7 separate regions of the Homo sapiens genome follow, and all the other regions are linked to region 5. Evidence: promoter capture Hi-C in 16 types of primary human blood cells and fetal thymus (Javierre and others, 2016). All regions are on one chromosome and are shown on one strand. Each heading gives the region's core, a stretch centred on a gene start or on the middle of the fragment in contact. The rest is flanking DNA. Distances are from core to core; before and after follow the strand shown.

The links. The method cuts DNA at HindIII sites, captures the fragments that hold promoters and counts their contacts. A CHiCAGO score of 5 or more calls a contact.
Region 1: a contact is called between a fragment that was not itself captured here and the fragment with the promoter of GABARAPL2 in region 5, in 1 of 17 cell types (fetal thymus). The highest score is 6.0, in fetal thymus.
Region 2: a fragment that was not itself captured here is called in contact with the fragment with the promoter of GABARAPL2 in region 5 in 1 of 17 cell types (monocytes); the score reaches 5.3 in monocytes.
Region 3: a contact is called between a fragment that was not itself captured here and the fragment with the promoter of GABARAPL2 in region 5, in 2 of 17 cell types (total CD4 T cells and naive CD8 T cells). The highest score is 5.7, in total CD4 T cells.
Region 4: a contact is called between a fragment that was not itself captured here and the fragment with the promoter of GABARAPL2 in region 5, in 6 of 17 cell types (total CD8 T cells, naive CD4 T cells, non-activated CD4 T cells and 3 more). The highest score is 6.8, in total CD8 T cells.
Region 6: a fragment that was not itself captured here is called in contact with the fragment with the promoter of GABARAPL2 in region 5 in 1 of 17 cell types (neutrophils); the score reaches 5.3 in neutrophils.
Region 7: a contact is called between a fragment that was not itself captured here and the fragment with the promoter of GABARAPL2 in region 5, in 1 of 17 cell types (neutrophils). The highest score is 6.2, in neutrophils.

Annotation. Positions count from the first base shown.
Region 1 is chr16:74,631,563-74,635,245 of GRCh38, forward strand. RFWD3 (ring finger and WD repeat domain 3) reads right to left here. Exons shown (of 13, transcript NM_018124.4): 9 at 961-1,111. Among named protein-coding and RNA genes, the nearest start is that of GLG1, 26 kb to the left of the region's middle. The HindIII fragment of the contact is 4,083 bases long and covers 210-3,683 here.
Region 2 is chr16:74,679,469-74,683,212 of GRCh38, forward strand. It overlaps MLKL (mixed lineage kinase domain like pseudokinase), which reads right to left. Exons shown (of 11, transcript NM_152649.4): 6 at 3,183-3,318. Among named protein-coding and RNA genes, the nearest start is that of RFWD3, 14 kb to the left of the region's middle. RefSeq lists a silencer at 2,599-2,797. The HindIII fragment of the contact is 1,819 bases long and covers 1,544-3,362 here.
Region 3 is chr16:74,602,413-74,606,027 of GRCh38, forward strand. The region is part of intron 1 of GLG1 (golgi glycoprotein 1); the gene reads right to left. Among named protein-coding and RNA genes, the nearest start is that of GLG1, 2.9 kb to the right of the region's middle. The HindIII fragment of the contact is 3,850 bases long and covers 1-3,615 here.
Region 4 is chr16:74,659,534-74,663,446 of GRCh38, forward strand. RFWD3 (ring finger and WD repeat domain 3) reads right to left here. Exons shown (of 13, transcript NM_018124.4): 2 at 1,399-1,918. The coding sequence starts at 1,916. Among named protein-coding and RNA genes, the nearest start is that of RFWD3, 5.4 kb to the right of the region's middle. The HindIII fragment of the contact is 1,463 bases long and covers 576-2,038 here.
Region 5 is chr16:75,564,552-75,568,532 of GRCh38, forward strand. It overlaps GABARAPL2 (GABA type A receptor associated protein like 2), which reads left to right and starts at 1,828. Exons shown (of 4, transcript NM_007285.7): 1 at 1,828-1,969; 2 at 2,301-2,356; 3 at 3,486-3,658. The coding sequence starts at 1,936. RefSeq lists a silencer at 1,891-2,300 and an enhancer at 2,290-3,043. The HindIII fragment of the contact is 5,212 bases long and covers 1-3,233 here.
Region 6 is chr16:75,038,190-75,041,955 of GRCh38, forward strand. All of the region lies in intron 1 of ZNRF1 (zinc and ring finger 1), which reads left to right. Among named protein-coding and RNA genes, the nearest start is that of ZNRF1, 41 kb to the left of the region's middle. The HindIII fragment of the contact is 5,341 bases long and covers 1-3,766 here.
Region 7 is chr16:75,002,949-75,006,731 of GRCh38, forward strand. The region is part of intron 1 of ZNRF1 (zinc and ring finger 1); the gene reads left to right. Among named protein-coding and RNA genes, the nearest start is that of ZNRF1, 5.8 kb to the left of the region's middle. The HindIII fragment of the contact is 2,415 bases long and covers 171-2,585 here.

The sequences.
Region 1 (3,683 bases), core at 1,001-3,500, 930 kb before region 5:
CGGAGCACACTCACATCTGGTTCACAGTACTCACAGAGCATGTGACAGATAAAACGCTGTGACTAAGGGTATAAAAGAAGTCATCATGGTACTCAAGGGCAGTGAGTGCTTGGTGAACATCTCTGTTACACAGAATTATCCAGGTAACAGACCAGGACCAGGAGTAAACAGTACCAACCTGGTATGGCGACTCTGATGTCAGGCACCAAAGCTTCCTCCATCCTGTCATTCCACAAACTTTAAAGACGGGGTTTCACCATGTTGGCCAGGCTGGTCTCAAACCCCTGACCTCAGCTGATTGCCTGCCTCGGCCTCACAAAGCGCTAGGATTACAGGCGTGAGCCACCACGCCTGGTCTCCACCAACTTTAGAGTTTTATTCTCATCTCCTTAAAATATACTTAAGACATATTTTGTAATATACATAGTTTCAAAGAAACAGGAAACATACAGTTTTGTAACCTTCTGTGCCCACTTCTAAAAGCAATATATTTTAAATGGATCTCAGAAGACACAGTCTCAGACCAAAAAAAACAGAGCTAAGGTCGGCTGGGCGCAGTGGCTCACGCCTGTAATCCCAGCACTTCAGGAGGCCGAGGCGGGCGGATCATGAGGTCAGGAGATTGAGCCCATCCTGGCTAACACAGTGAAACCCCGTCTCTACTACAAAAATAGAAAATATTAGCCAGGCATGGTTGCAGGCGCCTGTAGTCCTAGCTACTCGGGAGGCTGAGGCAGGAGAATGGCCTGAACCCGGAAGGTGGAGCTTGCAGTGAGCCGAGATCCCACCAGTGCACTCCAGCCTGGGTGACAGAGCGAGACTCCATCTCAAAAAAACAAAACAAAACAAAACAACAACAACAACAAAAAACAGAGCTAAGGTCATCATAACACCGATACGAATTCCATGCTACTCAACACCAAAGAGCCCAGTCTCCACCTACTTCCCCAAATCACTCACCTGGTCAGTTTAATAGTGTTGTCTAGGGAAGCAGAGAGTAGCAAGCCTCTGAGGTAACTGCTAAACGCCAGTCCACGGATCTGTTTGCCATGCATCGGAATGTACTGACTGCTCTTCATGTTGGCAGTACTCAACATCTTAACACCAAAGCCTGAAAAAGGCAAAATAGTATGAAATAGATCACTGAAAGTGAACCTAGGGCAATTCAAACTAGTTTTTCAAGTAGCTCCTTCGTCCACCTTTCTTGGCGTATAAGTCCTTGGGAACCAGCTGGTCAAACAAAAATTCTCTAGTGTTACAATTTATTCATTTATTTTTGAGAGTTGGCCAGGCTGGAATGCAGTGGCGTAACCTCAGCTCACTACAACTTCTGCCTCCCGGTGATCTGCTCGCCTCAGCCTCCCAAAGTGCTGGGATTACAGGCATGAGCCACCACACCTGGCCTATGATTCATTTAAAAAAGTACAACCCAGGCCAGGCATGGTGTCTCACCTCTGTAATCCCAGCACTTTGGGAGGCCGAGACAGGTGGATTACCTGAGGTCAGGAGTTCAAGACAAGCCTGGCCAACACAGTGAAACCCTGTCTCTACTAAAACACAAAAAATTAGCCAGGCGTGGTGGCAAGTTCCTGTAATCCCAGCTATTCAGGAGGCTGAGGCAGGAGAATCGCTTGAACCCAGGAGGCGGAGGTTGTAGTGAGACAAGATTGCACCACTACACTCCAGCGTGGGCAACCAGAGCAAAACTCCGTCTCAGAAAAAAAAAAAAAAGAAAAGAAAAAAAAGTACAACCCATGCTTGCTTCATGACAATGAAGAGAAGAAGAAAAAAAAAAAGAAAAAGTATAACCTACTCCAAACATCCAGGTAAATGGATAAACAAACCTACTGTATAAACATGTGATGGAATACCACCCGTTAAAAAGGAATTAACTACTAATATATACAATAAAAAATTATGCAGCGAGAAAGAAGTCAGACCAAAAAATGGTAACACTATATAATTCCATTTATGTAAAATTCTAGAAAATGCAAACTCATCTGTAGTGACAAAAAGCAGTGACTGCTGGGGATGGGAGAGGAGGGAGGGGCAGGTGAGATTATCAAAGGCCATAGGGAAACTTTTGCGGTAATACATATGTTCATGGCCAAGCATGGTAGCTCGCGCCTGTAATCCCAGCACTTTGGGAGGCTGAGGTGGGTGGCTCGCTTGAGATCATGAGTTCGAGACCAGCCTGGGCAATATGGTGAAACCCTGTTGCTACAAAAAATATGAGAATTAGCTGGGCGTAGTGGGGCGAGCCTGTAGTCCCAGTTACTCAAGAGGCTGAGGTGGAAGGATGACTTGAGCCCAGGAGGCGGAGGTTGTAATGAGCTGAGATCACACCCCTCCCTGCATTCCAGCCCGGGAGATCACACCCCTCCCTGCATCCAGCCTGGAAGACAGAACTAGATCTTCTGTCAAAAAAAAAAAAAATTAAAGTTATCTTGATTGTAGTCATGGTTTCAGGGGTGTATTACATATGTTAAAAGTCATCAAATTGTATACTTTAAATATGTAGTTTACTCTCTGTCAATTCTACTTCAATAAAGCTGTTGAGAGACAGAATATTTCACCAGAACCACAGACACTCCAGATGCAGAAGGAATAGTGAACAATAGAGAATGAAAATAAATAATTTGTCAGTCAAGATATGTCACATCTGTCTGAAATGAAATGAAACAGATGACATTTCAAGTACCCACATTACTGAAGTGGGGGGAAAATAACCAACAAAAACCAATAACCTTTTAAAACTTCTTGTTACTCTGTTCTCTTACTAGGCTATGATAACATTTATTTTTTACTAAGTACTTTATATATATATATATATATATTTTGAGACAAGGCCTCACTCTGTCACCCATGCTAAGGTGCAGTGGCACCATCATGGCTCACAATAGCCTCGATCTCCTAGGCTCAAGCGATCCTCCCAACTCAGCCTCCCAAGTAGCTGGGACCAGAGAGGTGTGCCACCACACCAAGCTAGTTAAGAAAAATTTTTTTTATAGCGATGGAGTCTCACTATGTTGCCCAGACTGGTCTCATACTCCTGGGCCCAAACGATCCTCCCGCCTTGGCCTCCCAAAGTGCTGGGATTACAGTCATGAGCCACTGTGCCCACTTGAGTTAAATTCTTTAAAAATACGTCAAATCCTAGATTCAAGATAGCTTCAGCTTCTCCAGGGAACCAAGCACGTGGCTTACTGTACTTTCTTCTAGCAGAATTAAGACAGCCAGAGAGGAAAAAAAAAGGGGGGAAGGGGGGCGCAGGTATAGGCTTTAAATCAACAAGGTGGCCAGGCATGGTGGCTCATGCCTGTAATCCCAGTACTTTCGGAGGCTGAGATGGGTGAATCACCTGAGGTCAGGAGTTGGAGACCAGCCTGACCAAAATGTTAAAACCCCATTTCAAATACAAAAATTAACTAGGCATAGCCGGGCGCGGTGGCTCACGCCTGTAATCCCAGCACTTTGGGAGGCCGAGGCGGGCGGATCATGAGGTCAGGAGATTGAGACCATCCTGGCTAACACGGTGAAACTCCGTCTCTTCTAAAAATACAAAAAATTAGCTGGGTGTGGTGGCGGGCGCCTGTAGTCCCAGCTACTCAGGAGGCTGAGGCAGAATGGCATGAACCCGAGAGGTGGAGCTTGCAGTGAGCCGAGATAGAGACAGCGCCACT
Region 2 (3,744 bases), core at 1,203-3,702, 880 kb before region 5:
GCAGATCATGAGCCATGATTTGGGCACGAGGGATTTGTATCAAGAAGGTGCTCCCTTGACCAGGCATGGTGGCTTGCGCTTATAATCCCCACACTTTGGGAGACCAAGGTGGATGGATCACTTGAGGTCAGGAGTTTGAGACCAGCTTCGCCAACATGGTGAAACATCATCTCTACTATTAATAAAAATACAAAAAAATAGCTGGGCGTGGTGGCATGTGCCTGTAATTCCAGCTATTCAGGATGCTAAAGCATGAGAATCACTTGCACCCAGGAGGTGGAGTTTGCAGTGAGCCGAGATCACGCCACTATACTCCAGCCTGGGCAGCAAAATGAGGCTCTGTCTCAAAAAAAAAATAACTCCAAAAGTCCCCCAAACAAACAAAAAGAAGGTGCTCCCAGGAGAAATGGTTGAGGGAGTACAGGAAGTAGGATGGCGAAGGAGAAGAAATCAAGCAAGAGGTTGATTTCAGGTGAAATCCCAGGCTCAGGTGGTCTCGCGGAGACCTGTGGGCACAATTACACCTCAGAGTGTGTCCCACAGGAAGCAAAGGAACTGGACTTTTATACTTACACCAGTCAGTGGTTATGGACTGTGTTGGGGAGGGCAGGGACAGATGGATATAAAACTCGTGGGCACTTTCAGCTGTCTATAAGGGTGAAAGGGCTCCAGTGCCCACAGGCAATCCTCTGAAGATTGCAGCTGTGAACTTTCAGCAGCAAAGCATGCCGAGAGGGGGATGGGTAAATAGAGCTGGTAAAAAGGATCAGAGGTCATTTGGAGGGGATATTAACAGTGTCCCCTACAACATCCAAAAATACTTCTCCTTAAACTCACTAGTTTAGGGAGTTGAGAAGAAACAAACTTAATTTCAAATTAATAGCTAAGACAGTGTTTCCAAAAGTGTGGGATAAGGTGGTATGCAAGATTATATAAAGGGAAAATTACTCTCCTTTCAGTTTGCTCCAGTCTTTCTGATTACATCAAGAAGAAAGTCTGCGTTTGGTATTTTTTTTTTGTTTTTTTGTTTTTGTTTTTTGTTTTTTGTTTTTTTATGAGACGGAGTCTCGCTCTGTCGCCCAGGCTGGAGTGCAGTGGCACAATCTCAGCTCACTGCAACCTCTGCCTCCCAGGTTCAAGCGATTCTCCTGCCTCAGCCTTACGAGTAGCTGGGACTATAGGTGCGTGCCATCACGCCCAGCTAATTTTTGTATTTTTAGGAGAGACGAGGTTTCACCGTGTTGGGCAGGATGCTCTTGATCTCTTTACCTTGTGATCTGTCCGCCTCAGCCTCCCAAAGTGCTGGGATTATAGACGTGAGCTACTGCGCCCAGCCTTGGTGTTGGGTATCCTTAACTCTGCCAATATCTCCAATATCTCCATTGTACAAAGAGAATGTGGGTTGGATCACAGAGCTTCTGGCAGGCAGCCTCATCCAGCCAGAATTTAATTACATTGTTTTGGTTTCATTTGTGGTTACCTATTTTTGGCAAGTGACACTGGTTTTCAATTTATGGTAGTAAGAGAAAGTGTCCTTTTTAAAAGCTTTATTTCAATTATTATTATTATTTTTTGAGATGGAGTCTTGCTTTGTCGCCCAGCCTGGAGTGCAGTGGTACGATATCAGTTCATTGAAACCTCCGCCTCCTGGGTTCAAGTGATTCTTGTCCCTCAAGCCTCCTGAGTAGCTGAGATTACAGGCCTGTGGCACCATGCTGGGCTAATTTCTGTATTTTTAGTAAAAACAGGGTTTCGCCACGTTGGCCAGGCTAGTCTCCAACTCCTGACCTCAAGTGATCCACCTGCCTTGGCCTCTCAAAGTGCTGGGATTATGGGCGTGAGCCACTGGGCCAGGCCTTTATTCCGATTTTTAAAAAGTGAGTCAATGTAATGAAAAATGTTAAGTAAATAACACTGGTAGTAGTATAGTTAAAACCCTGCAGATGGTTTGTGAGTGACTAACCTTTGGGGACCCTTGGGACTAAGAATCCATAGATTCTGCAGGTGAGAATAGGTAGAGTTGCCAAATAAAACACAAGACACGGCCGGGCGCGGTGGCTCACACTTGTAATCCCAGCACTTTGGGAGGCCGAGACAGGTGGATCATGAGGTCAGGAGATCGATACCATCCTGGCTAACATGGTGAAACCCCGTCTCTAATAAAAATACAAAAAAATTAGCCAGGCGTAGTGGCAGGCACCTGTAGTCCCAGCTACTCGGGAGGCTAAGGCAGGAGAATGGCATGAACCTGGGAGGCAGAGGTTGCAGTGAGCCGAGATCGTGCCACTGCACTCCAGCCTGGGCAACAGAGGGAGACTCCATCTCAAGAAGAAAAAAAAAGAAAAGAAAAAAACACAAGACACTCCATTAAATTTGAGTTTCTGATAAGCAATGAATATATAGATTCACGTACACGCATATATATATGTACAAGCATGCCCACAAATTGTATAGGACATAGTTGTACTAAAAATAAATGTTTATCCAAAATTTGAGACTGGGTGCAGTGACTCATGCCTGTAATCCCAGCACTTTGGAAAGCTGAGGCAGGAGGATTGCTTGAGCCCAGTAGTTCGAGACCAGCCTAGGCAGCATGGCAAAACCTTATCTCTACAAAAAATATATATAAAAAAAAAACTGGCTGAGTGTAGTGGTGTGCGCCTGTAGTCCCAGCTTCTCAGGAGGCTAAGGTAGGAGAATCCCTTCAGCTCGGGAGGTTAAGTGATCTGTGATCATATCAGTGCACTCCAGTCTGGGCAAGAGAGTGAGACTCTGTCTCAAAACATAAAATAAAATTTGATATTTTTGATATTTAGTATAAGTATATACCATGCAATGTTTAGGATGCACTTATACTAAAAAATGATTCATTACTTTCCTAACGTTCAAATTTAACTGGATATGTTCATTTTTATGCTAAATCTGTCCACTCCAAAATTAGGGCTCATCCAACTCTATAAGTGCAGTGTGGACATCAATTTCAACCGTCAGTTCTGGGAGCTGGTGTTCCCTGGGTTAAGCCTCTTTCCTCCCTCCTATCTGTAATCAGAGTAAATAGTAAAACAGTGTATGGGAGGGAGACTGTCTGGGGCGTCTGGCCTGTTCTCTCACCATCTCTGGGAGTATCAGGAGTGTGGACAGACCCATCCAACCCTTAGTGGCGCCTTTTCACCCCGTCTTACCGGTATAGGCCTCGGGCTGCCCCCAGGACTAGGACCATGCGCTTGCCAAGTGTGAGGTCTTTTTCCCTATCCAACAGCTCCCTCAGGGTCCCGAGTTCACAGTACTCCATGACAATGGAGAATTGAGGCGGAGTCACTGGTGGAAAGGAGCCAGACACTATGAGGACCCGCCCTACTTGAAGCTTCCCATGTCTGCAGCCCACCTCTCCCAGCCTCGGTACAGATACAGACTTGGCTCTGCTGAGTCCCATTTCTCCCCCAATCCTCAGCCCACAGTTTTGGTCCCCGGCCTCCTTGAATGGACCAAATATGCCCAGAATTCCCATCCTCTTCTCCATAATACTTGGCTTGTCGTAATTCTACCTTAAAAAAAAAATTGGCTGGGTGCGTTGGCTCATGCCTGTAATCCCAGCACTTTGGGAGACCAATGTGGGTGGAACACAAGGTCAGGAGTTTGAGATCAGCCTGGCCTACGTGGTGAAACCATGTCTCTACTAAAAATACAAAAATTAGCTGGGTGTGGTGGCAGGTGCGTGTAATCCCATCTACTTGGGAGGCTGAG
Region 3 (3,615 bases), core at 493-2,992, 960 kb before region 5:
ATGCTTGAAGTATTTGAAATGACAGTATCTGGGATTTGCTTTTAAATATGCCAGCCTCCCAACCCTGTGCCCTAAAAATAAAAGGGCGGGGCTGGGCGCGGTGACTCACGCCTGTAATCCCAGCACTTTGGGAGGCCGAGGCGGGCAGATCACGAGGTCAGGAGTTCGAGACTAGCCTGGCCAATATAGTGAAACCCTGTCTCTACTAAAAAATACAAAAATTAGCCGGGTGTGGTGGCGGATGCCTGTAGTCCCAGCTACTTGGGAGGCTGAAGCAGGAAAATCGCTTGAACTCGGGAGGCTGAGGTTGCAGTGAGCCAAGATCGTGCCCCTGCACTCCAGCCTGGGTGACAGAGTGAGACTCTGTCTCTCAAAAAAAAAAAAGGGTGGGAACAGTTGAAGCTGGGTGATGTATACCCAGGGACTCATTACCCTATTCTCTCTACTTCTGTGTAAGAAAATCTATGGGGCACGCACAATGGCTCATGCCTGTAATCCAGCAGTTTGGGAGGCCGACGCAGGCAGATCACCTAAGGTGAGGAGTTCAAGACCAGCCTGGCCAAGGTGATGAAGAGGCTGAGACAGGAGAATCACTTGAACCCAGAAGGCAGAGGTTGCAGTGAGCCAAGATTGTGCCACTGCACTCCAGCCTGAGCAACAGGGCAAGACTTCGTCTCAAACAACAACAACAACAACAACAGCAGCAGCAGCAGCAGCAGCCAGGCGCAATAGCTCATGACTGTAATCCCAGCACTTTGGGAGACCAAGGTGGGCAGATCATGAGGTCAGGAGATCAAGACTATCCTGGCCAACATGGTGAAACTCTGTCTCTACTAAAAATACAAAAATTAGCTGGGCGAGGTGGTGCGTGCCTGTAATCCCAGCTACTTGGGACGCTGAGGCAGAAGAACTGCTTGAACCAGGGAGTCAGAGGTTGCAGTGAGCCGAGATCACACCACTGCACTCCAGCCTGGCAACAGAATAAGACTCCGTCTCAAAAAAAAAAAAAAAAGAAAATCTAATCTATGAACATCACAAACTTTTTATTAGAGACGGTGTCTCACTATGTTGCCAGGCTGGTACTGAACTCCTAGCTCAAGCAATCCTCCTGCCTCAGCCTCCCAAAGGGCTAGGATTTCAAGTGTGAGCCACTGCGCCCGGCTGAACACCACAAACTTCTAAGGAACCAAGGTCTCCATCTGAAACTTCGAAATACAAGACACTAGTGGAAAAAAAAAAAGTGCTACTGGCCATTTCAACCAAGAATAAGTAAAGTATTTTAAAATGACTGACAACATCAAGCATGCCTTCCTTATCACATACTAAGCAACAGTATCTTCTCTTTCTTTGGTATTATTACTCCACCTACTAGAACAGCCCAGGGAATATTTTTTCTTTTCTGCCTTACACTTTCTAATTTTTTGTTTTTATTTAAATAACTTGAACTACTAATAATTATACACACACAACTAGGACTACTAACACACCATTACTGGCTATTACATCTATTATTTCATAGTGGACCCATGATATACTTGGCCTTTTTAAAAGCATGACTCATCCGAGAGCGTTAAAAAAAAAAAAAAAGAATCCCAAGGCCAGGCACAGTGGCTCACAACTCTAATCCCAGCACTTTGGAAAGCCCAGCTGGGAAGATCACTTGAACCCGGAATGTGGAGGCTTCAGTGAACTCTCAAACCCAGAAGACTGAGGCTGCAGTGAGCTATGACTGCACCACTGCACTCCAGCCTGGATGACAGAGCGAGACCCTGTCTCCATAATAAAAAATTTTTTTTCAGAAAGAAAAGTTCCATAAGGTTCCAAAAAGCAAAAGTTAAGTTTGACATATGCCAAGTACTACAGTGAATCCACATGAATGAACTGATATGTAGGCACTGTACTAGGTATCACAAGTATTTTAGAGAAGACAAGAATTCGGAAGGGTGTGCACAGATGATATGGAAATACGACACCATTTTATACGGTATAAGGTACTTGAGCGTCCTTGGATTTCAATATCTGCAGGAGGCCTGGAACCATCCTCCAGTGATACCAAGGAACAACTGTACTCATATGCTCTGCCTTTTCATAATTCCAATAATGGGTACGGATAGGAAAATGTTCCCTGCATTTGCATGCAAAGGGACAGAAAAGTACATATATCTATTTCACTATCAAATAGTTCTACTTACTGAACAGCAAATACAAAACATATTCTATACATGTTTCTTCAAATGTGCCTAACTAGTTTACTTCTTTAAGTTATGCTCTTTCAAACACATAGATCAGATTTAATTAACTCCCAGACTAAGCAGAATGAAATTTCCTTTCGCTGTCTTTAAAGAAAAAGAAAATAGGGTGGGGGTGGTGGCTCACACCACTAATCTCAGCACTTTGGGAGCCCGAGGCTGGCAGATCACAAGGTCAGGAGATCGAGACCATCCTGGCCAACATGGTGAAACCCTGTCTCTACTAAAAATACAAAAATTAGCTGGGCGTGGTGGCGCTCGCCTGTAGTCCCAGGTACTCAGGTGGCTGAGGCAGAATTGCTTAAAGCCGGGAGGTGGAGGTTGCAGTGAGCCAAGTTCAAGCCACTGCACTCCAGCCTGGCGACAGAGTGAGACTCCATCTCAAAAAAAAGAAAAGAAGTTTAAAAATAACTCCACCTCCTGAAGAATACACATAGGTGTTCACAGTACTCTTCCTTCATTATTTCTGTATGTAAAAACTGGAGGAAAAAACATTAAATTGGAAATTTGGTCCCTCCACCTCCCCCCAACCCCCCAAAACCCCCATTTCCAATTTATATGACGCCTTTCCTCCTCTGGAGCATAAAACTGCCTCCTTTAAGTGGAGGTTTCCAAATGTCCGGAATACACATGAAGGATATATACACTCCTTGAATAGGCCACTTTTTGCCACTTTCCCTAATAATGTGCTGTTTCTACCACAAACTACTACTAATTGTTTGGTCACCAGTATTAGGATCCTAGTTTGATGAAACGACATCTATTATGTGTCCTCAAAGAGCGAAAAGAAAATTCCAAAAAGTTCGACAGAGTTAGGAATATTAGCTGTATCTACCAGAGGACTATCCCTCTAGTCGTTAAGCTGAAGATGAGAAGTCAGGTAAGGCCTCACATTTCTAGGGGCTCTGGAAACTTCCTTTCTTTCTGTCTCCTGCTTATGTATGTCTTTTCCTCTATCTGAATTGCTTTTGTATAGAATACTAGAACACGAGATGAAGGGGGGAAATGCCAAGAGAAGCAAATTTCTACAAGCAAGTGGTCTTGCTATAGCTTGAACGCCTTAAACAAATCTGATATTTAAAAAAAAAACCAAAAACAGTATCAAGTGGTAGCTTCATTCTATTTGTCCACCTTTAGGGCTAATTTTATATACCTACACCTCTGGAAAAAGTTACTACTGTCAGATTTGCTCCCAAACTTTGAGAATTGTCATTATGGTCTGCAGCATTAAACCTAGATTATAAATTATCAATGTCACTTGATTATAAATTATCAATGTCACTCAACTGAATCACACCAAGCAACGACAAATGTAGATTTCATTAAGAGATACTGTTAAAATCACATTCAGACCTCAGAAAGGCAA
Region 4 (3,913 bases), core at 57-2,556, 910 kb before region 5:
CTGGTGAGCTGATACTGCGCCACTGCACTCCAGCCTGAGTGACAGAGCAAGACTCTTGTCTTAAAAACAAAAAAAAAACCCAGAGTAATATGCATTTGCAACTCTTGTCAACACAGAACTAGGCATCTGTCATCCTTGATGGGCACTACAGACACTGGAGCCACAGTCATGGCAAGCCCCAACATTAAAATCAGCAGGATCCATGAAAAAGAATGCTGAATCCAGATACAGAAGGCACAATTCCAATTCCAGCCTTATCACAACCAAATCACAAATTATCCCATCAGCTTCCTCATTTGTAAAACATGGGTAATAGATGACCTAGCTACCACTTTTTAGTATCATCTCAATATTTTCACAGTGTTAGAAAACATCGGCATGGTTGCGTATGCCTGTAGTCCCAGTTAATCATCAAGAGGCTGAGGTAGGAAGATCGCCTAAGCCTGGGGAGGTCGAGGCTGCAGTGAGCTGTGATTGCACCACTGCACTCCAGCCTGGGGAGCACAGTGAGACCCTGTCTCAAAAATAACAATAATAAAAACAAGAAGAAAGAGAAAACAAAGGGATTTCGTCGAAGCTTCCTCCATCTGCCTATGTAGAAAACAGGGCAGATCCAGGCTCCAATATCAGTGCTAACTCCTCTATTCTATAGTTATGAGACCCTGAACAAAGCCCTCTCTGAGCGGAGATCGCACCACTGCGCTCCAGCCTGGGCGACAGAGTGAGACTCCATCTCAAAACAAAACAAAACCAAAAACAGACAGGTTTAATTAGTTAGGTGTGGTGGCACGCGCCTGTAATGCCAGGTACTGGGGAAGCTGAGGCAGGAGAATCGCTTGAATCTGGGAGATGGAGGTTGCAGTGAGCAAAGATTGTGCCACGGGAATCCAGCCTGGACGACAGAGTGAGACGCTGTCTCAAAAACAAAAACAAAAAACCAAAAAACGGACAGGGTATAGGCAATTGTTATTCTTCATAATAACCCTGTCAAGACTTGACAGCTAAGCCCTTCAAGAGGCAAGTTCAAACCAAGACTATGAAAGAAAATTAATTAATTGTGCCCCCAGGTGGAATGCCAGTGAATAATGAATTTGGGTGAGTAGAGACTTGCAAGTGAAGAAAGAATTTTTGGTGTACAAGACACAATCTGAACAACAGCCAATCTCTACAGAGATTGCCAACAAACTACCACCTAGTTTTCAAGGCACAACAGTTTAACTTATCCCTTCATTACTTTGTGAAGTAAGGCAAGCACTTTTATTTCCACCTATGAGGAACTGGGGGTCAGAAGTTACCTGACTTGCCAAAAGTCACACTGTCAGTCCTTGAATGGCAGAGCCTCAGTTTCATAATTTCTAGTACAGCAATGATCACAGACTTATCCATATATTTATTTACCTGGCACTGTCTGTCCTCTGAGACCCTCCGGCTCTTGCCCTCCGTGAAGCAGATACCCTCCTTCTTGTTCTCATTGGCCCTACACTGTGGTTTGAAGATGAAGGTCTCAGGAATTCCAGCATGCCATGAAGTCTCTGCAGTCCGCTGATGAAGTTGGTCATTGAATGCAACGAAGATGCTGGGATGGTGTGATTACCATCAGATCCCTGCCTATGTTGTTCTGAAGTTCTTGGATTGATGTTCTCCACAGTGTCTTCTCCCAAGACCTCCACTTCTGTCAGGTCAACAGACAGTTGCGGAGCAGGCTGGAGCAGGGGTGGTGTCGCTTGGCTGCTGATCACCTCAGCAGGAGCTGGCTGGAGGATGGATGGTACCCCCTGGCTGCTGACCACATCAGCAGGAACAGGCTGGAGGAGGGCTGGTCCCCCTTGGCTGCTGGCCATGCCAGCAGGAGCTGGCTGTTGTTCGGCATGATTTAACTGCACCTGAACATCATATTCCATTGCTTCATGAGCCATCACTAGAGAAACAGTATTTGTAAAAAGTATTAATAAAATAGATAAAACATGCTATGTAGGTGACAGAATCATATTTAATCTTTCTGATTTTATGTTTAATATCATTCTTAGCAAGACTGAGAAGCTTCAAGAGAAGATTTTAACTACTTAAGTCAGAAGTGTTTGGTAATGGACTTTCCTCTCTATAACAAGCATTTATAACCAGTTTTCCGGTTTGCCCTTAGAAAACATGAAGTCCTGTGATCATAGTAGTATCTTCCAAAATAGAAAGATCTATAAACCAAGGAGATTAAACTACTGGGTCTAAAAGTAATCTCTCAGACACTTTGCAGTTCTCTCAAGCTGAATATGGACATTCACCAAAATCAAATGCATATAATGCAGTATCTAATTTTAGCAGGCAATATTAATCTTTCACAGCATCAACAGTTACAAGGGATAAATAGAGAAAGGACATTTTTTACACTTGCAAAATTAACTGTTACTAACTCAAAATGGAAACTTACCTAATGTTTCCAAAAAGGCTGAGCAAACTTTATCCTATCCCTTTCATTATTTTTGTTTTCCATCTCTAATTCCATCATGTTAGCGTATTCAACAAATATTTATTAAGCACCTATGTTCTTTTCATGTTTCCTATCTTTAATTCCATTGTATCAGTTTGAAAACTACCACCTAGTTTTTAAACTAAAAAAAAAAATTTTTTTTTGTTATATAGATGAAGGCTTCCTATGTTGCCCAAACTGGTCTTGAATGCCTGGCCTTACCTCCTCATGCATCAGGACAACAGGACTGAGCCACTGTGCCTCCCTACCACCTAGTTTTTAAAGTACATCAGTATAACTTATCCCCTTAATTACTTTGTGAAGTAAGGCACGTGCTTTTATTTTCATCTGACTTATGAGGAAATGGGGGTTCAACTAATAGTTATTAAGCACCTGTTATGCAGACAAGACACCCTAGAGGCAAAAACAGATAAGACCCCATGTATCAGAGTTTAGATTCTAGCAAGTAAGATGTCAATAAACAAATACATGAAAAAAATTATAGATTATGATGTTTGGGGTTGAGGAGACAAAGAGGACCAACTAAGACACAATTGTGAGGGAAGTACTCTTTTAAAGAGTGAAAATTGGGCTGAGGCATGAAGGATTAAAAGCAGCTGGCTATGCAAAGAGCCAAGAAGAGTCTCAGAAGGAAATCAGTGCATAGGTCCCTGATGAGCATGGGTTTCACTGATGAACAGGACACCATTATTAAAGGGCCTATGGGCCTTGGTAAGGAGTTTCTTCTATGTTAGGAATGCACTGTAGGGGTGCAAGAGCATAAGCTAGGTGACCAGTGTAGAGGCTATTGTGGGAGTCCAGACCAGAGGTCAGAGAGACCTAGGCAAGAGTGGTAGCAGTGGAGATGAAAACAAACAGACAGCTTTAAGAATCTTCAGAATGGTCATGCTTCTTTTTTTTTTTTTTTGAGATGGAGTCTCGCTCTGTTGCCCAGGCTGGAGTGCAGTGGCGCGATCTCGGCTCACTGCAAGCTCCGCCTCCCGGGTTCACGCCATTCTCCTGCCTCAGCCTCCCGAGTAGCTGGGATTACAGGTGCCTGCCACCACGCCTGGCTAATTTTTTGTATTTTTAGTACAGCCGGGGTTTCACTGTGTTAGCCAGGATGGTCTCGATCCCCTGACCTGGTGATCTGCCAGCCTCAGCCTCCCAAAGTGCTCGGATTATAGGCATGAGCCACCGCGCCCGGCCAATACTCATGTTTCTTAAAATCATCAAAGCAGATTAAACCACCTGAGGAACAGAATGACAGAAGAGGGCTGAAGACTAAAGTCAGAGACACTACTGTTAAAAGTACAACAGAGTAAAAGAAGCCAGTTAAGGAAGATTATAAAGTAGGAGGAAACATGGGAATGTGGTGTCTTGGAAAAACAATGTTTCAAGGAAGGAACAATTGAGTGTCAAGTGCTACTGGGGGGAAGAACGGCCGCTAGA
Region 5 (3,981 bases), core at 578-3,077:
TTTTTCCACTTCATTAAAAACAAACAAACAGATGCAGTGGCTCACACCTGTAATCCTAGCACTTTGGGAGGCCGAGGCGGGCAAATCACTTACTTGAGGTGAGAAGTTCAAGACCAGCCTGGCGAACATGACAAAACCCCATCTCTACCAAAAATACAAAAATTAGCTGGGTGTGGTGGTGTGTCCCTGTAGTCCCAGCTACTCAGGAGGCTGAGGCAGCAGAATCGCTTGAACCCAGGAGGCAGACTGCAGTAAGCCAAGATTGTGCCACTGAACTCCAGCCTGGGTGACAGAGAAAGACCCTGTCTCCAAAAAACAAAAACAAAAACAAAGAAACAAAAAAACCTATTCTAGTTACTCAGACACACAGTCTTAAAATAACAAAAATACTTATAGAATGAAGCTAGATTCCACAGCATCGATCAGGAATTTCCAGTGTAGGAAATGATGAACTACCACATTCAAACATACAGGCTTTACAGGTGCATCAGAATCACAAGCACGTGGCAGGGTTCATGTGCCCAATTAAGTGAATATTCCTGCTACATGTTCAGCAGCTTATAAACAGATGGTGACCCAGACCAGACTGCCTTGATGAGTCTGCTTGGAAAAAAGGCATTACATCACTGATTGGAGAACCTCAAAGCATATGTCCGGGCAGGTGACACACACACAGCTCAGGCTGTGATTGCTAAACCACTCCCACAGCCAAATAAGGAAACCCATCTCATGACCAGCTCTCAGGGGAATTCTCCGAGTCTGACAGTCACCTCTAACTCCTCTGCCAGTTAAAATTAAGGGGTCTGTGATCAGTGATGTTACACTCCTCAAATGTGCATTTTTTTTTGAGGCGGAGTCTTGCTCTGTTGCCCAGGCTGGAGTGCAGTGGTGTGATCTCGGCTCACTGCCACCTCCACCTCCCTGGTTCAAACGATTCTCCTGCCTCAGCCTCCCGAGGAGCTGGGACTACAGGCGCCCACTACCATGCCTGGCTAATTTTTGTATTTTTAGTAGAGACGGGGTTTCACCATGTTGGCCAGGCTGGTCTTCAACTCCTGACCTCAGGTGATCCACCCGCGTCGGCCTCCCAAAGTGTTGGGATTACAGGCGTGAGCCACCGTACCCCGCCTCAAATGTGCATTTGTGATACCTTTTCGTAAATGTTTATTCAAATATTTATTCACGAATAAAGGAAGAAAACGGGATTTGTTTAAATTCAATTTCTAGGTCCAAGACAACCTACTACGGCTGTCCCTAATACGGACCTCCGGGTTGTCCTCAGTGCCGCTTCCAACAGTGTCCTCAAACACCCTCCCCTCCCATAATGAGCCCCCAACCTGTCACCACTCCGAGCAATACTCCCCAAACTGTCAACGCCCTAAACAGCTCCCTTGTTATCGCCAAGCTCTAGAAAGCCCTCCTTATGTCATTCTTACCCCTAAAGACCGTTCTTGTCACCAATTCCCCAGACTTCCCCTATGAACCGCTCTAAGAGCCCTCAGCTATCAGCCACACCCCCAAACAGCCCTCAGTAAGAGCCCTACACTATCAGCCAGACGTTTTCCGCCACCAACGCTCCCGAGACCCCACTCCTGTCACCAGTTCCCCGAACATTCCTGCGAGCAATGTCGCAGATACTGCTCACAGACGTCCCCATAACCAACTTCTTCGCCACCGCAGCCCAGGAGCCCCCAAAGGGGTCCTCCGCGGCCCCGCCCCTTTACGTGCGGCCCCGCCCCTTGGCGTGGCGCCCTGACAAATGGCGCCGGAAGCCCCGCCCCCGGCCGGTTGCTAGGCTCCGACAGCCGGAAGTCCCGCCTGCCGTGTAGTCGCCGCCGTCGCTGCCGCTGCCGCTGCCGCCGTCGTTGTTGTTGTGCTCGGTGCGCTGAGCTCCGCGGCTCCGCGAGCCGGTTCCGTCCCCTTCCCGCCGCCGCCATGAAGTGGATGTTCAAGGAGGACCACTCGCTGGGTAAGCACTTGGTCGTCGGCCCGGCTGCTGGGGGCTGGGGCGGCGGGTGGGCCCCCTCCCCCACTCGGGCGGCCCTGGGCCGAGTGGAGCGGGGCGGATGCCCTGCTGCGGGCTGGAGTCGCCCATGCCCTGGTGCCTCGGGCAGCGGCCCCCTGACCCCATGTCACCCTCCGCGGGCCTTGCTGGGAGCTAGTAGGGGACAGGACCGCGGCCCCGGGGACGCCGGAACCAGGGCCTGGGTTGTACGCAGGGCGCAGGAGGAGGAGGGCCGGGGGCCGGGAACCGACCGGTGGGCAGGCGCGGCCGTCAGCCCCGTTTGTTTCTCCCACAGAACACAGATGCGTGGAGTCCGCGAAGATTCGAGCGAAATATCCCGACAGGGTTCCGGTGAGTGGACTCTCCGCCCCCTCACCTCGCTGTCACCTCTGTCGTCTGGGACCCGTGATAGGCCCCAGGCCATTCAACAGTTGACAAGTTGAGGTTCCAGTCCCAGTTACAGTAGCTGACGGGCCAGACCGGGATGAGGCCGCCCAGGGCCGGGGCGTGAGGGGCTCGGGCTGGTGCTGTTCAGGGTGCCTCAGTGCTGAATCTCCCGATCTAGGCCAGCGAGCCGTCTGCAGCCTCGGGGCTCCCTGGCCAATTATGTAAGGAACGATGTTCTAGGACAGGGCAACAGGTCACTGCCACTTTTGGGAATGGTGGTGGAGGGAGACTGTCATTTTGGTCTTGGAAGTGGTACTTGAGTCTCAGGACGTTCATCTTTTACTTTGTCTCCATCTTTACCTAACTTCTAGCTCCGTTATCTCACCTTGACCCTGTCATCCTTGCCTGACCAAAATAATGTGAAAAGCCGCTGAAAACCCCTTCTGCCATATTTTCTTCTTAGTCAATAATAAATATAATGTTATATTTCTTCCATGGTTGGGGAGATAGTTTTGTAATCGTTATTAATTTTTAATGGACATTAAGGCCTGTTATTGTAGCTCTTTGCTTGTGAATAATTTGTCTGGGGAAAGGAGTAGGAGGGACGGATTTGAAACTTGTTCAGAGAGGAGCAACAGGCCAAATGAAGAACTTGGTTCTTGGCTGGCTAAAATTCCAGGCATTCCAATTAGTCCATCCATTCTTGTCTCCTGTGTTCCTTGGGAACACAGTAGTGTTTCCTGTAGTGTGAAGGTGGATCCATTCTGGGGTCCTGGAGTAACGGGCCATGGATGAAACCCTCCCCAGATATTCTTAGGTCTGCCCAGATAAAATGTGGAAAAGCTTAGTGGTAAGGGCTGCATTTCTCTTACATAATTGACCACAGAAAAGCACTTACTGTTTCCCTGTAACACATTTATATCAATTCTTAACCTCCAGAGCGTGTGGTTTATTAAGCCAAAGACATATTTTCTCCTGCTATGCAGTTCCCCACCCACCTCCTTGCCCACACTCTGTTCATCAGCTCCTCAGCCATGTGAGGCCAGAGCCTCGCTTTAGGAAACACAGTCCTGACCTCTCTTTACTTTCCCAGGTGATTGTGGAAAAGGTCTCAGGCTCTCAGATTGTTGACATTGACAAACGGAAGTACTTGGTTCCATCTGATATCACTGTGGCTCAGTTCATGTGGATCATCAGGAAAAGGATCCAGCTTCCTTCTGAAAAGGCGATCTTCCTGTTTGTGGATAAGACAGTCCCACAGTCCAGGTGAGAGGTGTTTACTAGATGGGCCCTCTGGTATTAGACATCTGGTTGGCTGCTTACGGAACTCCAAAACTTTGGAAGTCTGAAAACTCTTAGGGGTCCTGACTAGAAATCTGGATTTTATGCTCCCTGACATCAGGGGCTCCAGGAAAATAATGGCTGCAATACATAAGAGTGCATTTTGGATTCAGAAAATAGAACAAGGCCTGGACTTTTAAAAAAATGATGAAACTCAGCCTAAGATCTCCAAGAATCTTTTAAAACGGTTGAGAACTTATTTAGTCTTAAGCTATAGGTAGAACTGAGGCCTGAAATGAGGTTTTCTT
Region 6 (3,766 bases), core at 1,220-3,719, 530 kb before region 5:
TTCAGGCAGGGCTCAGCTGGATGGTTCTTCTCTATGTGACTAACAGCTGGGGTGTCTCATGACATTGTAGTCAGTGACTGGAATGGCTAAGATGGCTTCATTCACACATCTGGCAAGTTGGTGGGCATGATGAGGAGGCAAAGCCTTCTCTCTCTCGCTGTGGCTGTCTCCCTAGTTGTGACTAGCTTGGCTTTTGTTATTTGGAAGCTAAATTCCAAAAGTGAGCATACCAGGCAGCAAAGGCAGAAGCTGTAATTCTCCTAGGGCCTACTAGCCTTGGAAGTTACATGATGTGGCTTTCTCCACCTTCCGTTGGTCAAAACAAGAATTTGGTTTGGCATTGTGACAAGGGGAAGGGCAGGAGAGGGGACATTGCTGAAGAGCTGGTAAGATGGACACTATTGTTGCAACTATCTTTAGAAACATAATTTACCACAGAACACTTTCCTTGGGGAGCTTGAGCCCCACTGTAAGCCAGTTAAATAAGAATCTCTGAAGAAACAGTAAGATGCTCTCCAGGAAGTCCTGTGTGTGTGTTCTTCTAAGCACGATCTGCAGTCTGGCTCTTTCTGTTTCATACAACATGGCATTCCAGTGTGCAAGATGATGAGTCCTCCCACTCCTTTGAGCCATACTGATAAGAGAAATTGAAAATAATTTAAGTGCTGTTATTTTTTTTTTCTAGGACACAGTCCTACTTCTGTAAAATTTCCCCATCTGCTCCAGTATACAGTGATGTTGAGTACTATTGTTTTATAATCACTGGTGAATTCCTGGTAAGAACCATATCTTCTTCTGTGTTTAATCTCTGTGTTAAGCACAGCATTACATTCCAGTAGGTATGTGATAAATCCTTGAATTGAACCATTGAAAATGGCACTGTTGCTGCTGTTCTCAGTGCCTATCAGAATTGTGCAGAATTAATAGTTCCTATAGATCTAACAATTACATACCCCTGTTAAAAATATAGAAAAAATGTGGTTTTGAAATGAACAGATTTAAAATTAGACTAAACTTGAAAAGTGGCCTAAATGTTTTTAATGGCAAAAACTTTCTGTTTTATTTATTATTTTTAATTTGTTTGGAAAACTTTTTTTTTTAATGTGGAAGCATATTTAGAATACTGTGAATAAATATAAGTTGCTTTCCTGCAAATTGCTTTATTTAGGGAGGCCAAAGGCAGAACCCTAAAGACTTTAGAACCACTTAAAATACAGATAATTTACTTGGTCATTTTCAACCCAGGAACACACAGATTTTACTCTTGAAACTACTTATAAAAATCCTTGGAGTTAATGGTATACGAGAGTGTTGTAGCTCATGGAGTACTAAACCATGAGATCAATCATAAGATTCTCCCTGATACTTGTAAGAGGTACAGATTCCCAGGTTCCCCTTTGTTAGAGATTTGGATATAATACATCTCTGGTGAGACTTTGAAATCTCTGTTTTTAATGACTGGTCCTGGAGCTTTTAGGAATGCAGATTTATGGGCCCCACCCCAGACCTACTGAATCCAGTGGGAAGAGAGGGGTTGGTCTGTCAACAGGTGTTCCAGGTGATTCTTACGTGTGCTGTTGTTGAAGAAGCACTGTTAATAGAGAAATCCCTTTCATAGTTCTTTGCCAGAAAACTACAGTTCTACCAGAAAGTATCCCAAAAGATTTTCACTGTATATAGGAACCTGCAGTTAGGGATCCTCCAGATGTTGTGGGATATTGGTTGTTACTGTTTTGAAACTGAGGTATAGTTGACATACCATAATATTCATACATTATAAATGTACAATGAGATTTAGTAAATATATAGTTATGAAACCATCACTAAAATCTTTTGTTTCTTTCTTTTCTTTCTTTTTTTTTTTTTTTTTTTTTTTTTTGAGTCTTACTCTGTCACTCAGGCTACAGTACAGTGGCATGGTCATAGCTCACCGCAGCCTTGACCTTCTAGGCTCAAGGGATCCTCCTTCCTCAGCCTTCCACGTAGCTGGCACTGCAGGCGCGCACCACCACGCATGGCTTAAAATCCAATTTTATAACACTTCCATCTCTCAAAAAGTCCTTTTTTTATTTTTATTGTTTTAAAACAAGGGCGTCACTCTGCCACCTAGGCTGGAGTACAGTAGTGAGACTGTAGCTCACTGCAGCCTCAAACTCTTGGGCTCAAGCAATCCTCTCACTTTGTCCTCCCAAAGTGCTGGGATTACGGATGTGAACCACCACATCTGAAAGGGCCACTTCAGAAAGTTCCTATGCCTGTTTTTAGTCAATCTCTGCTCCCCACCGGGCAACTGCTATCTCTCTAGATTTGCCTTTTCTGGGAATTTCATATAAATGAAATCATACAGTATGTATTATTTTCTGTTTGGTGTCCTTCACTCACCATGTTTTTGTTTTTGTTTTTTGTGGGTTTTTTTTTTTTTTTTTTTTTTTTTGAGACAGAGTTTTGCTCTTGTTGCCCAGGCTGGAGTGCAGTGGCGCAATCTCGGCTCACTGCAACCTCTGCCTCCTGGGTCCAAGTGATTCTCCTGGCTTAGCCTCCTGAGTAGCTGGGATTATGGGTGCGCGCCACCATGCCCAGCTAATTTTTTGTATTTTTAGTAGAGATGGGGTTTCATCACGTTGGCCAGGCTGGTCTCGAACTCCTGACCTCAGGTGATCCACCCACCTTGGCCTTCCAAAGTGCAGGGATTACAGGCATAAGCCACCATGCCCAGCCCACTTACCATGTTTTTAAGTTCATATGTGTTGAGTATGTATCAGTAGTTTGTGCTGACATCGGTAGTTTTTATTGCTAAATAGTATTCCATTATATGAATTTACCACAGTCAGTCTATCCATTCACCAGCTGATAGACTTTTGGATTGTTTCTAGCTTAAGACAATTATGAATGATGCTGCTGTGAACATTCATGTTCGTGATTTTATGTGGACATAAGATTCCATATGAGAAGTTTGTGTTTAAACGTTTGAGAAACTGGCAGCCTTTTCCAAAGTGGCTGTACATTTTACATTTTCATGGGCAATGGTTGAGAGTTCCAGTTTTGCCACATCCTTGCCAACACCGTGTATTGTTGACTTACGGATTATAGTCATTCTAGTAGGTATGTAGTGGTACCACATTGTGATTTTAATTTATTTTATTTATTTATTTATTTTTGAGACAGGGTCTCACCCTGTCGCCCAGGCTAGAGTGCAACGGCATGATCTCAGCTCACTGCAGCCTCTGCCTCCTGGGTTCAAGTGATTCTCCCACTTCAGCCTCCAGAGTAGCTGGGACTACGTGTGCATGCCGCCATATCCGGCTAATTTTTGTATTTTTTGTTACAGATGGGGTTTCACCATGTTGGCCAGGCTGGTCTCCAACTCTTGACCCAAGTGATACGCCCGCCTCAGCCTCTCAAAGGTCTGGGATTACAGGCGTGAGCCACCGTGCCCAGTCCTCACTGTGATTTTAATTTGTATTTCGTTAGCTAGTGATGATCCCTTTTCATGTGTTTAACAATTCACTTATCTTTTTTGGTGAAATGTCAATTCAAATCTTTGCTTGCTTGTTGTTTTCTGTTTTTAAGACTTAATTCTCTCAGGAGTTCGAGACCAGCCTGGCCAACATGGTGAAACCCCATCTCTACTAAAAAAAAAAATATATATATATAAAATTAGCTGGGCATGGTGGCAGACGCCTATAATCCCAGCTACTCGGGAGCCTGAGGCAGGAGAATCACTTGAACCTGGGAGACGGAGGTCGCAGTGAGCTGAGATCATGCC
Region 7 (3,783 bases), core at 128-2,627, 560 kb before region 5:
TACCTTAATCATTCTTTTTTTTGAGACAGAGTTTCGCTCTTGTTGCCCAGGCTGGAGTGCAGTGGTGCGACCTCTGCTCACTGCAGTCTCCGCCTCCCGGGTTCAAGCAATTCTCCTGCCTCAGCCTCCCGAGTAGCTGGGATTACTGGCATGCGCCACCATGCCCAATAAGCTTGGGGCTAATTTTGTTTTTTGTAGAGACGGGATTTCTCCATGTTTATCAGGCTGGTCTCAAACTCCCGACCTCAGGTGATCTGCCTGACCCGGCCTCCCAAAGTGATAGGATTACAGGCGTGAGCCACTGCGCCCTGCACCTTAATCATTCTTAACACACTTTGTAAGTATTTTATCTGTTTACTTTTTTCTGTGTATGGTTTGCCTAAAGTCTAAGCTCCGTGAGAGCAGGACTGTGTTCCTTGATCTCTGTTGTGGGTCCTGCACTGTGCCTGCCACTCACATTTTTTGAGTACATGAATTTGAGTACTTTATGTTCATCATCTCACTTAATCATCACTCTGACTCTATGGAGTAAGACTGTTCTCTCCCACCCCCATTGTGCAGGTAAGGAAACAGGTTTGGGGAGGTTAAGGAACTCACACAAGATCAGGTGGTTAGTAGGTGGTGGAGATGGGATTGGAATGCAGGTTGGCTGGTGCCAGAACCTGGGCTCTTAACCAGTACCCTCTTCCGCCTCTTATCTGAAAACATCACAAAGCCGCATGGTGTCCTGGAGATTGCGCTGGCCTACGAGTCAGAGTGCTAGGCTCATCTCCTGGTTAGGCAGCTGATTAGCTGCATGATTTGTGACCTTGGGCAAGCGAGTCATTTAACCTCAGTCACAATTTATTCATCTGTAAAATGTAGAAGACGCCTGTCCTGCTTACCTCTCAGAGTCATAGTGAGGGTCTCATGAGATAATGTGCACAAAAGTCAAAGGACATTCTAAATGGAGAGTGGTGGAGTTCCTATGGGGGCACTCTCTTATAGTTGTCTGCCTTCAATCGCCTCAGATTTTTTTTTTTTTTCTTTTGAGACAGGGTCTTATTCTGTCACCCAGGCTGGAGTGCAGTGGCGAGATCATAGCTCACTGCAGTCTCAGACTCCTGGGCTCAGTTGATCCTCCCAGCTTGGCTTCCCAAAGTGCTGGGACCACAGGCATGAGCCACCGTGCCAGGCCTAATGGTCTCAGAATTTGATGGGTGGAGAGAGGTTTACAGCTGTGCTAGCTGTAGCCCCCAAATGGAATCTGGTTCTGTGTCCTAAAGTCTGGCCTGCATTAGTGGGCTGCTTTTACTCATAATGCCGCTGATAAGGGCTGCTTTATAGAAGCAGAGTGACTCCCTTTCCACGTTAAAAAGTTTTGCTATAACTCCTGATGGCTGCCTCGGTGCTATTCTGGAGGCCTGGTCATTCTCTTTCGGTAGTTCTGTTTGTCTCAGAGTATGGATTTCTAAATGTGGGGTACAAAACATGCACCATCCACCATGTTGAAAGAAGTTGCTGTTTTCTAGGTTCTACTATAAAAGGGCTGGCCATTGAGGGCTTCACTTCACCTTCTTAGTCATATGTGTATATATATGTATGCACTTTCAGAAAGTCTAAACTGTTCTTTATTGTCATCAAGCCATCAACTGAGACTGATACAAGGTGATTGTGTTTTGTTTTTGTTATTTATTTATTTTTGAGACAGGGTCTTGCTCTGTTGCCCAGGCTGGAGTGCCATGGTGCAATCATGGTTCACTGTAGCCTCAAACTCTTGGGCTCAAGCCGTCTTCCCATCTCAGCTTCCAGAGTAGCTGGGACTCAGGTGCGCACCACTACACCTGGCTAAATTTTATACAATCTTTTGTAGAGATGAGGTCTCACTATGTTGCCTAGGCTGGCCTCAAACTCCGGGCTTTAAGCAATCCTCCCACCTCAACCTCCCAAGGTATTGGGATTATAGGCATAAGCCACCACGCCTGGCCCAACGTGGCTTTTAATAAGTCTTTGAACATGCTAGGAGGTATCTCTTGGGCTCTATTTTGCTGCCACTGTAGGGTTCTCAAGTGATTTAATTTTCTTTTATTGTTAGCTAATGGGGGAGAATTGCCAGCTCCCTTGGAGTGAATCAGAAAGCCTTTGTGTCCCGCCATAGGTGTGCTAGAAGTAATGGGCCTTCACATGGTTTCTGGAGAAGGAAAAGCATTCTGTGGTCTCCAAAGAGCATGATGGGTCTCCTGCCCTGCAAAAGTTCTATTGTTAATGAAAACTTGTATTAAAAAGCAGAATTTTTAGCTCTTTATTACCATGAGGGCTTATTTTCTTAAAATACAAAAGTTACCCCGAGGCAAAGATAATTTCTTGAAGGTCATAGTTAACTCTTGCTTATTGAGGTTTGAATGGTGTTGTAAGAAACAGTGGCTTAGCTCTTAAAGCGTTTGCTTTATGGGATACTACATTTTGATATTAAACAAAGACCCACCTCAATATATCATGTCACAAGGAATACTTAGGCCATTCTTAGCCAAAGAAATGAAGCAAGCTCTAGTTCCTTTTGGGAAAAGGAACATGCTTTGTATTTTACATATGTGGTATTCACCCCAAGCTTATTGGGCACAGAAATTTGAGTATAGTAGTTACTCCCTATCCAAAGGGGATTCGTTCCAATACCCACAGTGGATGCCTGAAACCGTGGATAGTACCTCACCTGAACCCTATATCTACTATGTCTTTTCCTGTATATACATACCTTTGATAAAGTTTTATTTATAAATTAGGCACAATAAAAGCTCGACAGCAGTAACTAATAATAGAACAATTATAACAATATACTGTGATAAAAGTTATGTGAATGTGTTCTCTCTCTCTCTCTCCCTGTCTCGAAAGTACAGTCATGCATTGCTTAATGACAGGGATACTTTCTGAGAAATGGGTCATTAAGGGATTTTGTCACTGGGCAAACATCATAGGGTGTACATACACGGACCTAGGTGGTATAGCCTGCTACATACCTAGATTATATGTTGCTCCTAGTGCTCCTAGGCTACAAACCTGTGCAACATGTGACTGTATTGAACACTGTTGGCAATTGTAATACAGTTGTAAGTATTTGTGTGTCTAAACATAGAAAAGGTACAGGATATAGTCTTACGGGACCACCATCATGTATGCAGTTGCTTGTTGACCCATGCATGTAGGGTGGTGCGTCATGGTATCTTAATATTTTAGACCTCCATTGACCACGGGTAACTGAAACTATGGAAAGTGAAGCCTTGGACAAGGGGTACTGCTGTATACCCAATTATAAAACTAAGCTTCAATTTTGACAGCTTCAAAATTAGAAAAACTTCATAGGGAAGTGGTGGTAACTTAAATGGGATATTGATTCTGCTCCTACTCATCCTTAGGTAGGGGTGTTTTTAATGACAGTGGATCACTAAGGTTGTGGTTCTAGAATCTTGAAGTTAGCCCAAAACCTAAATCTTAACCTCAGTCAGTTTGTTTGTTTGTTTGTTTGTTTATTGAGACAGAGTCTCACTCTGTCACCCAGGCTGGAGTGCAGTGGCATGATCTGAGCTCACTGCAACGTCCACTTCCCGGGTTCAAGTGATTGGCCTGCCCCAGCCTCCCAAGTAGCTGGGATTACAGGCATGCACCACCACGCCTGACTAGTTTTTGTATTTTTAGTAGAGACAGGGTTTCACCATGTTGGCCAGGCTGGTCTCGAACTCCTGACCTCGGGTGATCCACCTGCCTTGGCCTCCCAGAGTGCTGGCATTACAGGCATGAGCTACCGTGCCT